Regions from separate parts of the Homo sapiens genome. Here region 1 is linked to region 2. The links are contacts of gene promoters, found by promoter capture Hi-C in blood cells and fetal thymus (Javierre and others, 2016). All regions are on one chromosome and are shown on one strand. Each heading gives the region's core, a stretch centred on a gene start or on the middle of the fragment in contact. The rest is flanking DNA. Distances are from core to core; before and after follow the strand shown. Region 1 overlaps MAP3K5 (mitogen-activated protein kinase kinase kinase 5). Region 2 holds the start of MAP3K5 (mitogen-activated protein kinase kinase kinase 5).

The links. Contacts are between HindIII fragments. The CHiCAGO score rates a contact against its expected background, and 5 or more counts as called.
Region 1: a contact is called between a fragment that was not itself captured here and the fragment with the promoter of MAP3K5 in region 2, in 2 of 17 cell types (megakaryocytes and M0 macrophages). The highest score is 5.6, in megakaryocytes.

What each region holds. Positions count from the first base shown.
Region 1 is chr6:136,711,372-136,717,990 of GRCh38, reverse strand. The region is part of intron 2 of MAP3K5 (mitogen-activated protein kinase kinase kinase 5); the gene reads left to right. Among named protein-coding and RNA genes, the nearest start is that of MAP3K5-AS2, 69 kb to the left of the region's middle. The HindIII fragment of the contact is 4,062 bases long and covers 2,764-6,619 here.
Region 2 is chr6:136,787,203-136,794,178 of GRCh38, reverse strand. It overlaps MAP3K5 (mitogen-activated protein kinase kinase kinase 5), which reads left to right and starts at 1,702. Exons shown (of 30, transcript NM_005923.4): 1 at 1,702-2,469. The coding sequence starts at 2,022. RefSeq lists enhancers at 622-701, 1,072-1,131, 1,242-1,471, 2,262-2,331, 2,437-2,952 and a silencer at 1,492-2,131. The HindIII fragment of the contact is 11,326 bases long and covers 1-6,976 here.

The DNA of each region.
Region 1 (6,619 bases), core at 3,545-6,044, 79 kb after region 2:
TTCCTGCTGAGTGTGTTCATTTAGAAAAGCCTATCAGCTATGCCTCCTGAGTTTTCCTAGGTAACATCCTTCTTTTTTTCTTTTCCCTTCTCCTTTCTATTAACTTAAACTTTTGCTGTTTTCTTATTTAGACTATTCCTAGCCTGGTAGGTCATGTGTCTGGTTGCAGAGGACAGAAATATCTGGGATAGGAAGCATATTTGGCAGTCTAGCAATTTCCTCTGAGTCCTGAAAGTTCCTCAGGTCCTATGCTACCGAAAAGAGTTGGTGTGTGTGTGTATTTTTAGTTTTATTCATTTCTGGTCAATTAGTTAAAGATGTAACCCTTATTCCTGCCATTGACCAACAGATAGGAAAACTGCCATGAAAGAAGCAGAACAAGAGATATTTAAAATAATATATCATGTAAGGATTAGCCAAGTGAAATAAAAACAAAGCATTTCTCTGTTTTCACAGGGCAAAGACAGTTTTAGAATGCTATTCTTGTCATATGTTTAGTTTCACTTAGGTTGATTCTTTGGCCATCTAGAAAGTACAGCTGCACAAGTTTTATTTTAATCTGCTGCTCTTTGTTGAAGACTGCAGTTTCTCTTTGGTGGCAAATTCTCAGGAAGAAATCGTAGAAAAAAATTTTTTTTTGTTTTAATTTAAGCTCCTGGAAAAGTAATGGGAGCTATGAAAGTACTTTAAAAATCTATGTCTGAAGTATCATTTGAAAGGATATTTAGAATCTAGTCATAGCATTTAATTGTAATAAGATTTATATCCATTGTTTTAAATCACAAGTACTATTTTGTTGTACTAAGAATGAAAAATTTTAGTATTTTTTTCAAGAGAAGATGATCATTACACTTTGAGAGAAGGAAGTTGATTTTTTCTTTTTTTTTTTGCTTTTTTAGTGCAATGGAGCAATCTCAGCTCACTGCAACCTCCGCCTCCAGAGTAGCTGGGATTATAGGCACGTGCCACCATGCCTGGCTAATTTTTATATTTTTAGTAGAGATGGGGTTTCACCATGTTGGCCAGGCTGGTCTTGAACTCCTGACCTCAAGTAATCTGCCCACCTCGGCCCCCCAAAGTGCTGGGATCACAGGCGTGAGCCACTGTGCCTGGCCAATTCTTTTTATTTTCTTTAGCATTGTAACAACACTTTTATTTTTTACAATTTTCTTTAAGTCTCATGAGAATTTCTCTCGTGCCTACTAATGTTTATTGAGAGAATATCTGTGCCAATATTTACATTGGTTTAAAATAAGAAATGCTAGTAACAATTATTTTCTGATTTATTTCATGCATTATGAAATGATCATACTTCCACTTGGGGTCTCTCAGTAAGTGGTGAGTAAGTCTGGACACTCCTGGTCAATGAGCTGTGGTGCAGATGCATTAAACACCTCTGATGACTTAGGAGAAATGAACCTGTTTTGTGTAGAGTGAGGAAGTTGTTTTAATGAACCATCTCTTATCACTAGAAATTCCTTTATAACACCAGCTCTCAGCTTATCTTCTTGTGATCCTTTCCTCCACTCCCTTCCTCAGCTCCTCTATGTTCTGGGCCACTCCCCACTCACTTTAAACAATGCTACTTTTAAAGGAAGCAAAACAACAGGATGAAACATGACTGCACGTGCCAGATAGTTGAGAATTAAAAGCTCTTATACTACAGATGGCCAGATTGTGGAGAGTGGGAAACCTACACACTGCTGGTGGGAGAGATACTACCTTCTGAAGCGCAATTTGGGAATATTTAATAATATCAAATGAGCATATCACCAAGACTTAGTCATTCCAACCCTAAATGTATACTGTAAAAAAAGTCTCTTGCATGCATAAGGAGATATAATCAAGAATGTTTATGTTAACATGTTTATAATAGCTCCTCCTCCCAAGGAAATGGAGAATTAATAGATACCTTCAGCTGTAATTTTTTTTTTTTTTTTTTTTTTTTTTTTTTTTTTTTTTTGAGACGATCTTGCTTTGTCACCCGGGCTGGAGTGCAGTGGTGCTATCCCGGCTCACTGCAACCTCCACCTCCTGGGTTCAAGCAATTCTCCTGTCTCAGCCTCCCTAGTAGCTGGGATTACAGGCTCCCGCCACCACGCCCAGCTGATTTTTGTATTTTAGTAGAGACGGGGTTTCGCCATGTTGGCCAGGCTGATATCAAACTCCTGATCTCAAGCAATCCGCCCCCGTTGGCCTCCCAAAGTGCTGGGATTACAGGTGTGAACCACCATGCCCAGCCAGCTATAATCATTTAATGGAATATTATAGAGCACTTAAAACAAATCAGTTAGTGCTTCAGACGTCAATATCAATATATCTCAAAACAACAGTGTTGGGGTAAAAAAATTACTTGTGTACAGTATCATACCATCTATATAAAATATTGTCAGTGCAAGAGGATGCTTTTATACACACTTGTGTTATAAAAGGATAGACATGTGCATGGAATTATAAACAACATTCAGAATAGTTACCTCTTAGGGGATAGGAATGGAATAAAATTGGGAAGGGAAGATGAGAGTCTTCAACTGTATCTGTAATGTTATAGTTCTAAATCTAGGTGGTAGATTATGAGTGCTAATTTTTGTACTTTTTATATACTTGAAATATTTAATAATTAACCTTTTTTAAAAAAGGAAAAGGTTGCTATATTCTTTTATTTTTTGTATCCACCAGGATAACGTATATGCATTTTGGACACTGGAATCCCAAAATATTTTTAGTGTCTTTTTTCTATGTTCTGGCTGTGGTTAGAAAGCTTCAGATATTTGGATATTTCCCTTTCTGCACTCAAACAGACTTTGTTCTCATTTTATCCATTATAGAAGTAATGTTTCTTGATAGGTTGGTAGGCACATCAGTTAGTGGTGATGCAGTTTGTGTTGAAACGTAATGATTATGTTAGATTATTTCTTGTTCAAAAAATTTAGTTGTATTTTTATCTTTAACCATTGGCTGAAAAGTTACTTTATGGATGGGATTTTCATTAATAGACTATTCTCTGTGGCAACCTGTCTACACGCTTACTCCTTCACTATCTCACTGTATACAGAACACACATATGTGATGCTTGAAACCCTTACTCTGCCTCAGTGCATCTATTATTTTCTAGATTGGGATCTGGCTAGCATGAAATCTTAGGTGCACAAACCAAAATTTGTAACATTTCACTAAATTAGCCCTTAAAAATCAGCAAATTTTAATAATACGGCAGCTCCCCAAAACATTAAAAATAAAATTACCACATGATCCAGCAATTCCACTTCTGGATATATACCCAAAAGAACTGAAAGCGGGATCTTGAAGAGGTGTTTATATACCCATGTTCATGGTAGCATTATTCTTAGTAGCCAAAAGGTGGAAGCAACCCACATATTTATCAACAGATCATTGGCTGAACAACATGTGGTATATACATATAATGGAATATTATTCAATCTTAAAAAGGAAGGAAATTTTGACATATGGTACAACATAAATGAACGTTGAAAACTACTGCTCATTTGAGCAGTTCTGTGATACCTAGACCCATGATCTTTTATCTGCAGGCACTGAGGGACTCAATCTCCTTTAGAACTTAAACACGGAGTCTTGTCTTTCTGGCACTCATTCATATCCATTTGAAGCAAATGGTTATAGTTTTGAAAATAGCAGTGATGTCCATGTGTAAATTTTGATGATTATACCAGTTTGTAAATTGGTGAGGACACCTGGTAATTTGTTACAAATACCTCACACTTAAATTGAATTCTTACCTGTATTTGGAGAATCTACTCGGATTCCAGAGTGTTCTTAAACCCATAAAAACATTTTATCTTTTTGTTTTTACAAACAAAAAACAGTACTTCCTTTTGTTAAAGTTTTGCCTCCCTTATCAAAGTAAATAAGATGAATTTGGTTTTAGCTTGAGTTGTGCATGGAATTAAAATTTTTATTTTTCAAAGGTTTAGGATTCTTTTAGTTTAACAAAGAATTTTTGCTGGATTCTTTTCAGCATTTTAAAAATCATCAACTTGTTAGTGGTACAAAGTACACACTCAGTAAATGTTTTTTAAAAACATCCTTGGAAAATATGATCCTATAAAGTGGTCTCACAATTTGTGAACTGGAAACATTGGCCCTACCCCTTTTTAATAGTGCTGCCTCTGGACATCTCTGAAAGTCTCTAGCTTACTTTATAACCAGCTGTTGATTTAAAAACCCTGGGACTCTACTCTTCCTGGTTCAACGTTGCTATCCCTTACACTTCTTTTCATTTGGTAGAGACAATCTTGTTCCTTTATTTTATTTATTCAGAAATGATCTAACTTTCATCTAAGCTATAATCATTCCATCTCAAATTGGGGAAGGAAAGAGGTAATTTGTGGGGAGGAGCAAATAAGCAATTCATGTAACACTGCTTTATGAAGGTTTTCTCTGAAGATCTTGAATTGACAAGCTAGATGAATGATTTATTTAGCAGGAGTTGACTTCCCAATTGTAGAATCCCTGAGGTTATTAAAGGGACTCAAGACTGGAGAATTCAGCTTTCTTGGATGTCAATTAGCAATAGTATACCTTCTAAGGAATTATGTATAGACTGGGTAAAATATGCCCTTGCTTTCTCCTTCCTGATACCTCTTTAACCACCCTCACTCCTTGCCCACTGTTTTGAATCTCTTGTTACCATTTTGTCTAAGAGGCGATGCACAATGCCATTATATGACTGTGGGCACCAGCTATTTTTCTCATTTGTAGTGACTCTGGTCGTAGGCCTATGATTTTGAATACCCTTAAAGAGTAAGAAGGACTACTTCTGCACACAGAGGAAGGAGTGGGGCAAGCCTTGCTGAATTATCTTTATTTTCACTTATGCTATATAAATGACTCTTTCTGTGGAAGTTGATCTTTTTGGCATTGTAACCCATCACCCTCTTTGGGCCTTTTTAGAATATATCTTTGAAACTATTACTGAAATATGTGTGTGTATTAGTTCATTTTCATGCTGCTGATAAAGACATACCTGAGACTGGGTAATTTATAAAGAAAAAGAGGTTTAATGGACTCACAGTTCTATGTGGCTGGGGAGGCCTCACAATCATGGCAGAAGGTGAAAGGCACATCTTACATGGCAGCAGACAAGATAGAATGAGCCAGGTGGAAGGGGAAACCCCTTATAAAATCATCAGACCTCGTGAGACTTATTCACTACCACGAGAACAGTATGGGGGAAACCACCCCCGTAATTCAGTTATCTCCCACCAGGTCCCTCCCACAACATGTGGGAATCATGGGAGCTACAATTCGAGTTGAGATTTGGGTGGGGACACAGCCAAACCATATCAATGTGTAAAGTATGATTTACTGTAGAAAAATTCACTATACCTCCAACTTTAACAATACAGTTTAAGAAAAGTAATACATGCACTTGAATAATGTGACCCAATTAGGTGTTGCTGAAAGAAACAACTGGTTAAAAAGAAGAAGAAGTTAATTATAATAGCAACACAGTATAAAGTGAAGTTTGTGTTAAGAAGCTCTGTTAGGCCGGGCACAGCTGTAATCCCAGCACTTTGGGAGGCTGAGGCAGGTGGATCACCTAAGCCCAGGAGTTCAAGACCAGCCTGGTCAGCATAGTGAGACCCAGTTTCTACAAAAATTAGCTGGTCATGGTGGTACGTGCCTGTAGTCCCAGCTACTTAGGAGGCTGAGGTAGGAGAATTGCCTGAGCCTGGGGAGGTTGAGGTTGCAGTGAGCTGAGATCATGTCACTGCACTCCAGCCTGGGTGATAGAGTGACAGAGTGAGACCCTGTCTCAAAAAAAAAAAAAAAAGCTCTATTAAATGCTTTATGTATAAAATGTCATTCATCAGCATTCCAGCCAGTTTAGAGACAGATACCTACTTACGGCAGAGTTCTTCCACCAAGATATACTTATTTAAATATGAAAAGAAATTAATAGGGAAAAGAGAGGCTAGAATTCCTTTTAGGATTACTTTCCAGCTTTGATATAATTTAACCTGATTTTTGGTACAGGTTGTTTTAATTGATAGGTGTTCATATGCAAGAGAAGGATGTGTTCTTAGCCCCCGTCATGAATAACAGAGGTGTAAAAGGTCTCTAGACCTGGCAGTGCAGGAATTGAGTTGGAGTTGTTTGCTTTGGTTTATTAATACCTCCTCCTATAAATAGCTTTAAAGTACTGCAAGTAATTTCATTAACTTACTCCATTTGGCCTTTACATAGAACCCAACGAGACAGACAAGTTAGATATTATTTGGATTGGAGAGATAGAAGGTATTTTCTTTTTCTTTTTTCTTTCTTTCTTTCTTTCTTTTTTTTTTTGAGAGGTCTGACTTTGTCCACCCAGCCTGGGGTGCAGTAGTGCCATTTTGGCTCAGTGCAACCTCCACCTCCCAGGTTCAAGCAATCCTCCCATCTCGACCTCCTGAGTAGCTGGGTGTATAGGCACATGCTGCTACACCTGGCTAATTTTTGTATTTTTTTGTAGAGATGGGGTTTTGCCGTGTTTCCCAGGCTGGTCTCAAACTCCTGGGCTCCAGTGATCTGCCTGCCTCTGCCTCCCAAAGTGCTGTGATTACAGGCATGAGCCAACGCTCCTGGCCAGAAGATATTT
Region 2 (6,976 bases), core at 453-2,952:
ACTTTCCTTTAATTCTTTACTATTCAGCTATTTTATCCTTCCTTCTTACCCAGTTTGAAATGTAATTCATGGCTGGGCTGGGTGGTTCACGCCTGTAATCCCAGCACTTTGGGAGGCCGACGCGGGCATATCACCTGAGGTCAGGAGTTAGAGACCAGCCTGGCCAACATGGTGAACCCCACACCCCTCCCCCTCCCGTCTCTACTAAAAATACAAAATTAGCCTGGTGTGGTGGCGCATGCCTGTAATCCCAGCTATTCGAAAGGCTGAGGCAGGGGAATCGCTTGAACCCGGGAGGCAGAGGTCGCAGGGAGTCGAAATCGCGCCATTGCACTCCAGCCCGGGCAAGAAGAGCGAAACTCCGTCTCAAAAAAAAAAAAAAGTAATTTACATTTTCTTCTGCCTTTTTCACAGGACTCACTAGTCTCAGTTCCTGGAGATGGGAAGTACAAAACCTGTTTCTTTACTCAGTTGTAACTTGCACTGGCTTTCCTAACAATTACAGCATTCTGGGGTTCTCTGGGAACTTACACATCTGTTCTTTGCTCCCCAAATAAGCAGGTACTTTTTTTGATTGCTCTTAAACAATCTGGGTATTTCCCTCCCGGCCTCGCGTGATGCAGTTTAAAAAATAGAATAGGTCACGTTATTCCCCTGTTTCATCTTGTTGATAATTTGTGGAGTCGGGTAGAGACTCCATCTTCTATCTTAAGTATCTGGCGCTTGTGGGGGAATTAAGATCCTAAATGAGAATACTAAGTCCTTCGGCAGTTGGCACTAATCAATTACTCATTACTGATAACGGAATGAGCCACTGGAAATTTTAAAAGGAAAAGTACATGGGAGAACCTGATCAATTTAGCCAGCCACTTCTGGAGTGCCACAGTCACTAATGAAGCAACCTCCAGTGCAGGCCCTGGCTCCAGGGCGCTATGTACAACCTCCTGCCTCGCGCAACGTGGGTCTCCCGGAGCCTATCCTGCCAGCGCCGCGCACGGTCCCAGTCCACCAGGCCGCCAAGGCCCGGAGGGGGGCGCCCTAGTCGCGGGGAACACTGGAAATGCTTCAGGGGCGGACTCCGAAGACCGAGTATTGCCTCGAGGGACTTTCTGCGCCACCCCGTAATCGCTTGCGCTCCAGGTCTTCGTAGGTGGGGGCCGGGTGGGTGAAGACTGGGACCCTATGCCACGCGCAGCACTCAGAGGAGGGCTGGGGTCCCAGGGCCGCAGCGCGGTCAGTTCAGTCCGGGCTCGAGCTTCCTAGCAGCGCCCTCCTTGGGGGCTGGCCCTGACCCTCGGTGCCGCTACGAGTGGGTGGCCAGAAGCTGGTGGTGGAGAGGGAGAGCGTCTGCAAGGAACGACGAGGCTGGCGCCGGGACCACGCGGCGGAGGCGATCGAAAGAGAAACGAGGCCAGGCAAGGAGGAGGAAATCCACCCGATGAAGGCGAGCTGCCGCCTAAGAGGGAGGAGGGTCCTTTCGGCTGCCGCTGCTGCTGTTCCGGGACGCCGCCTGGGGAGCCAGCCCGCTCGTAAGGTGCGCGCCAGGTAGCTCCGCACCCAGGGGGCGCCCTTCCTGGCCCCTCCCAGAGCGGCCGGGACGGAAGGAGCTGCGCGGCGCGGCGCGGCGCGGCGCGGCGGGTGGCGAGGGCGGGCTGCACCCCGAGCGCGGCGCCCTTGAGCTGCACCGCGGCGCAGGTTTGCGAGCCGACTTGTCAGCCGGCCAAGAAAAGGAAGCTCCGTCCCTTCCCGCTCACCCGGCTTCCCCACCCCTTGTACTCTAAACTCTGCAGAGGGCGAGCGGCGCGGCCACGGAGGCGCCGAGGAGGAGCGAGCCGCCGCCGGGCAGCGGCGTGCCCTCGGGGGAGAGGGCGCCGGAGAGGAGGCGGCGGCGCGGCGGCGAGGGCGCGGCGCGCGATGGCAGCTGCTTAGCCCGGCGGGCGCGGAGCAGCCCCGAGCTGTGGCTGGCCAGGCGGTGCGGCTGGGCGGGGGACGCCGCCGCCGTTGCTGCCCGGCCCGGAGAGATGAGCACGGAGGCGGACGAGGGCATCACTTTCTCTGTGCCACCCTTCGCCCCCTCGGGCTTCTGCACCATCCCCGAGGGCGGCATCTGCAGGAGGGGAGGAGCGGCGGCGGTGGGCGAGGGCGAGGAGCACCAGCTGCCACCGCCGCCGCCGGGCAGCTTCTGGAACGTGGAGAGCGCCGCTGCCCCTGGCATCGGTTGTCCGGCGGCCACCTCCTCGAGCAGTGCCACCCGAGGCCGGGGCAGCTCTGTTGGCGGGGGCAGCCGACGGACCACGGTGGCATATGTGATCAACGAAGCGAGCCAAGGGCAACTGGTGGTGGCCGAGAGCGAGGCCCTGCAGAGCTTGCGGGAGGCGTGCGAGACAGTGGGCGCCACCCTGGAAACCCTGCATTTTGGGAAACTCGACTTTGGAGAAACCACCGTGCTGGACCGCTTTTACAATGCAGGTGCGTGTGTGACCCCTTTCCCATCCCGCGCGGTCGGGACCCGCGTTTAATCTGGCGGTCTTCGGGGCATTTCATTTTTCTGGGCGGGAAGCATTTACTTCTTGCCCCACTTTGGGGGCAGCGAGCGCCGCTGCGTGACTGCTCCTGTCGCTCGCCGCTCCGGAGAGAGCGTGTGTGCTTGTGCAAGAGTCTGTGTGTACTTGTGCGATAGACCTATGGATCCACCCACCGCCCAGCGCTGGAGCCCTGGGTCCATGCGATCGACTTGAACTGTTCTCCAGCAGTGTGAGATATTTGCCCCAGTCAGTCTTTCTCCTTTCAGTGTCTCGGTTTCGCTTCTGTGAGGTTTGGTCCCTGTTTTCTTTCTGCATATACCTGTGACCGTTTTAGATGAGGTTCTCCTTTTCTCTGTGTAGTTTTGAGAGTACGGGAACGATGACATACCATGCACGCAGAGTGTAACTATATTAATTTGCATGCCATGTGATGATCTTCCCAACTCACCTTACCTTCGATAAGTTTTAGTAGCTTGAATTTCCTCTCACCAACCCAGACTTTGAAGTAATTACAGTGCTTCCAAAGGCAATAACATTACAACTTACACTGAACTTGTGTGTTATCTTTGTAAGGATTTTGGTGAAAGAACCAGGGCCTGTTTTTTATTACCCCATAAACCATGGTGGGCTAGAAAGTTTGTAATTTAACATTGTCTAAAACACCTGTATGCTATCCTAATAATAAGATTAGTTTCGCCATTAAAGTGATTGCTAGCATAATCCATGAAAGAAATGTATCTTTCAACCTATCTCAAATTTCAGAAAATGTTAAGGCAGTTCTAGTAACTGAAGCACTTAGCTGTTAGCAAATGTTAGGAATAATACCATATTATGGAAATTAACCTTTAGTCCCCTGTACGTCCAGTGTTGAGAATATATACATATTTATGTTTACATTTGTGGGTAAAAACTTGGTTTAGTAGTTTCAAAACAATACACTTCTTGCATTTGTGATCACATAAAAGGCTTTATTTTCCAATCTTGTTTTCAATTCTGATTCTCTTTAGTGTCTTCCAAACACCTGAAGTGGGCTTATGTCAGTTTTGGAATTCAGCCAAAGCTGAATATTTTGAGAACAACAAGACCTTCATGTTAAGGAAGCCAGACTAAATAAACTAGGACTTTCTCGTTCTGGTATTTTTAAAATAGTTTTGGTCTTCATAACTGAGCATGGCTATAATATAGCTTGATTCTTTGGGTAGCTTGCTATAAAAGTTACATCAACATAACTTTTCTAAAAATTGTAGCACTCTTATTTTTGGATTATAATTTGGAAGAAACTTCAAAGAACTAAAAGATATGAGAGGAAAATACCCAACTGAACACTTGAGCCTATTTTTATTGCACTGATTGGGCGTTTTTTTCCTAGGGCTCTAGAAAAAAAATGTTAAACTCTAAGCTAATTTGAAAGAAACTTTCCTAACAAGGCTTGGTTTCTGTTATTCTCCAAATACTGTCTCTGGGAAAGGGAGAGAGAATGATTAGAAGGGAGCTGAAGTTTGAGTGTATTTCATTGAATCCTCCAAACAAGCCTGTGAAGGAAGTACTTACCTTCTTAGGTGAGAAAACCCAGGGATCCCTAACTGGCCCTAGGATTCATAGGGAGTAAGTGGCCAATGCAGGATTCCACTTCAGGTGGCTGACCCTAAAAGGTTGTGCTTGGGCCAGGCGTGGTGGCTCACGCCTGTAATCCCAGCACTTTCGGAGGCCAAGGCGGGTGGATCACCTGAGGTCAGGAGTTCCAGGCCAGCCTCCTGGCCAACATGGTGAAACCCTGTCTCTACTAAAATGACAAAAATTAGCCAGGCATGGTGGTGCACACCTGTAGTCCTAGCTACTCAGGAGGCTGAGGCAGGATAATCACTTGAACCTGGGAGGCAGAGGTTGCAGTGAGCTGAGATTGTACCACTGCACACTCCAGACTGGGTGACAGAATGAGACTCTGTCTTAAAAAAAAAAAAAAAAAAAAAAAAAAAAAGAGGTTGTGCTTGGCCCTTGCTTCCTCCATTTAGGTGGGCTGAGTTACTCTCAGAATCAAGGGAAGCTCCCTATCTTGGAATCATGTGAGTGAGCTGGCAAAGATCTTACCAGGCATTTAGGTGTGTATGGAATAGTGGGGAGGGCATGCTCTCGGAAGCCTCTTTTTCCTGCGCCCACTCTGTCCCTTCGTACTGCTTCTTTCAACCTAGACAGGTCTCAGTTTAACCCCTGCCCATCTGGATGGCATGAACTCCCAGGATGAGTGCCCTCTCAGTCAGCATGAAAGCATGAAAATGTGACAGAATGAAGGTAGTGCATCAGTTTTATCCAAACCCTTTGTTTCTATTTTATTTTATTTGTTTTAGAGACAAGGTCTCACTCTGTTGCCCAGCCTGGAGTGCAGTGGCATGATCATGGTTCGCTGCTAGCTCGAACTCCTGGGCTCTAGTGATCCTCCTGCCTCAGCCTCCCGAGTAGCTGGGACTACAGGCATGAGCCACCACGCTGGGCTAATTTTATTTTATTTTACTATGTTTTTTTTGTAGAGACGGGGTCTTGCTATGTTGCCCAGACAGGTCTCAAACCTGGCCTCAAGCAGTCCTCCTGCCTTGGCCTCCCAAAGTATTGGGATTACAGGCGTGAGCCACCGCACCCAGCCTCCCATCTTTAAGTTTACTTGTACCCAATGTTTAGCTCCCACTTATGAGTGAGAACATTCAATATCTGGTTTGGTGTCTTTTTGGTAGAACAATTTATTTTCCTTTGGGTATATACCTAGTAATGGGATTGCTGGGTCGAACGGTAGTTCAGCTCTTAGTTCTTTGAGAACTCTCCAAATTACTTTCCACGGTGGCAGGACAAATTTACATTCTCACCAACAGTGTGTAAGTGTTCCCTTTTCTCTGCAGCCTCGCCAACATCTGTTATTTTTTGACTTTTTAACAAAAGCCATTCTGACTGGTGTGAGATGTTATCTCATTGTGGTTTTGATTTGCATTTCTCTGATGATTAGTGATGATGAACATTTTTTCATAAGTTTGTTGGCTGCTTGTATGCCTTCTTCTGAGAAGTGTCTGTTCATATCTTTCGCCTACTTTTTAACGGGGTTATTTGTTGTTTTGCTTGTTGATTTGTAGACCTTTCTTAAATGCGTAGTTTGTGAATATTTTCTCCCATTCTGAGGGTTGTCTTTGTACTCTCTTAATAGTGTCTCTTGTTGTGTAGAAGCTCTTTAGTTTAATTAGGTCCCATTTGTCATTTTTGTTTTTGTTGCAATTGCTTTTGAGGACTTAGTCATAAATTCTTTCCCAAGGCTGATGCAGAATGGTATTTCCTGGGCTTTCTTCTAGGACTCTTATGGTTTGAGGTCTTACATTTAAACCTTAATCCATCTTGAATGAATTTTTGTATATGGTGATAGATAGGGGTCCAATTTTATTCTGCATATGGCTAGCCAGCACCATTTATTGAATAGGGAGTCCTTTCTCCATTACTTACTTTGTTGACTTTGTTGAAGATCAGATGGTGTTAGGTGTGTGGTTTCATTTCTTGAGGTCTCTTTCACAACTTCTCAACTCTGCCCTATTACTCAAGAGCAGCCATAAACAGGACCTAAACAAATGATCATGACTATGTTCCAACCAAACGTTATTCGTGGACACTGAAATTTGAACTTCATATACCTCACAAAGTATGATTTCTTGTTTTATAACCATTTTAAAATGTAAAAACCATTCTTAGCTTGCAAGCCATACTCAAAAACAGGTGGCCCACAGGATTTGGCCCCTGTGCCATGCTGACCTTTGCTCTACACCCATGACCTGTACTTGAAAGTTGAATTTTTATGAGATAGTGGGAAGAACATGGTCCCTCATATTAGATCCGAGTTTTCATCCCAGCTCTGCTGTGAACCATGTAATTGTGAGAACGGCCCTTCATTGCCTCCAGTGGTGTTTCTTTGCCTGTAAAATTGACCAGGGTTAGAAGTGAAGGGGGAATTGAACACATTTTTTTAGGATTCCCTTATTTAATCCTGTGAATTTACAAAGGCAAGGTGGCATGGGATGCAGGCACAAAGCATTAGAACAGCATTTTCAAGGTTTGGCTTTGGGTCCTGATTCTTTTCTAACTTGGAGCAAGTCATTTAAAGCCTCAGAAAAGAGTGGAGTGTTGGAATAATTGGTATCTGAGATTCCCTCCAGCTCTCAAATTCTGTACTTTAAAATGACAGCATTATTAAGACAAATGAATCATTTCAGCTCGTAGAGATTAAATGAACTGCTTGTATATATCATATTCCTGCCCCTGAAGAGCTCAGAGTTGGTGGGGAGGGCAGACCAATGCCTTTGCCTTAGCAGTGCCTCTGTGCCAGGATGCTGGGCTCCCAGGAATCAGCTTCAAAAATCAGATTGAGGATACAGTGGGTTCAAGGGTAGCTTCTTATGCTTGTTTTTTGTTTGCTTTTTTCCTTT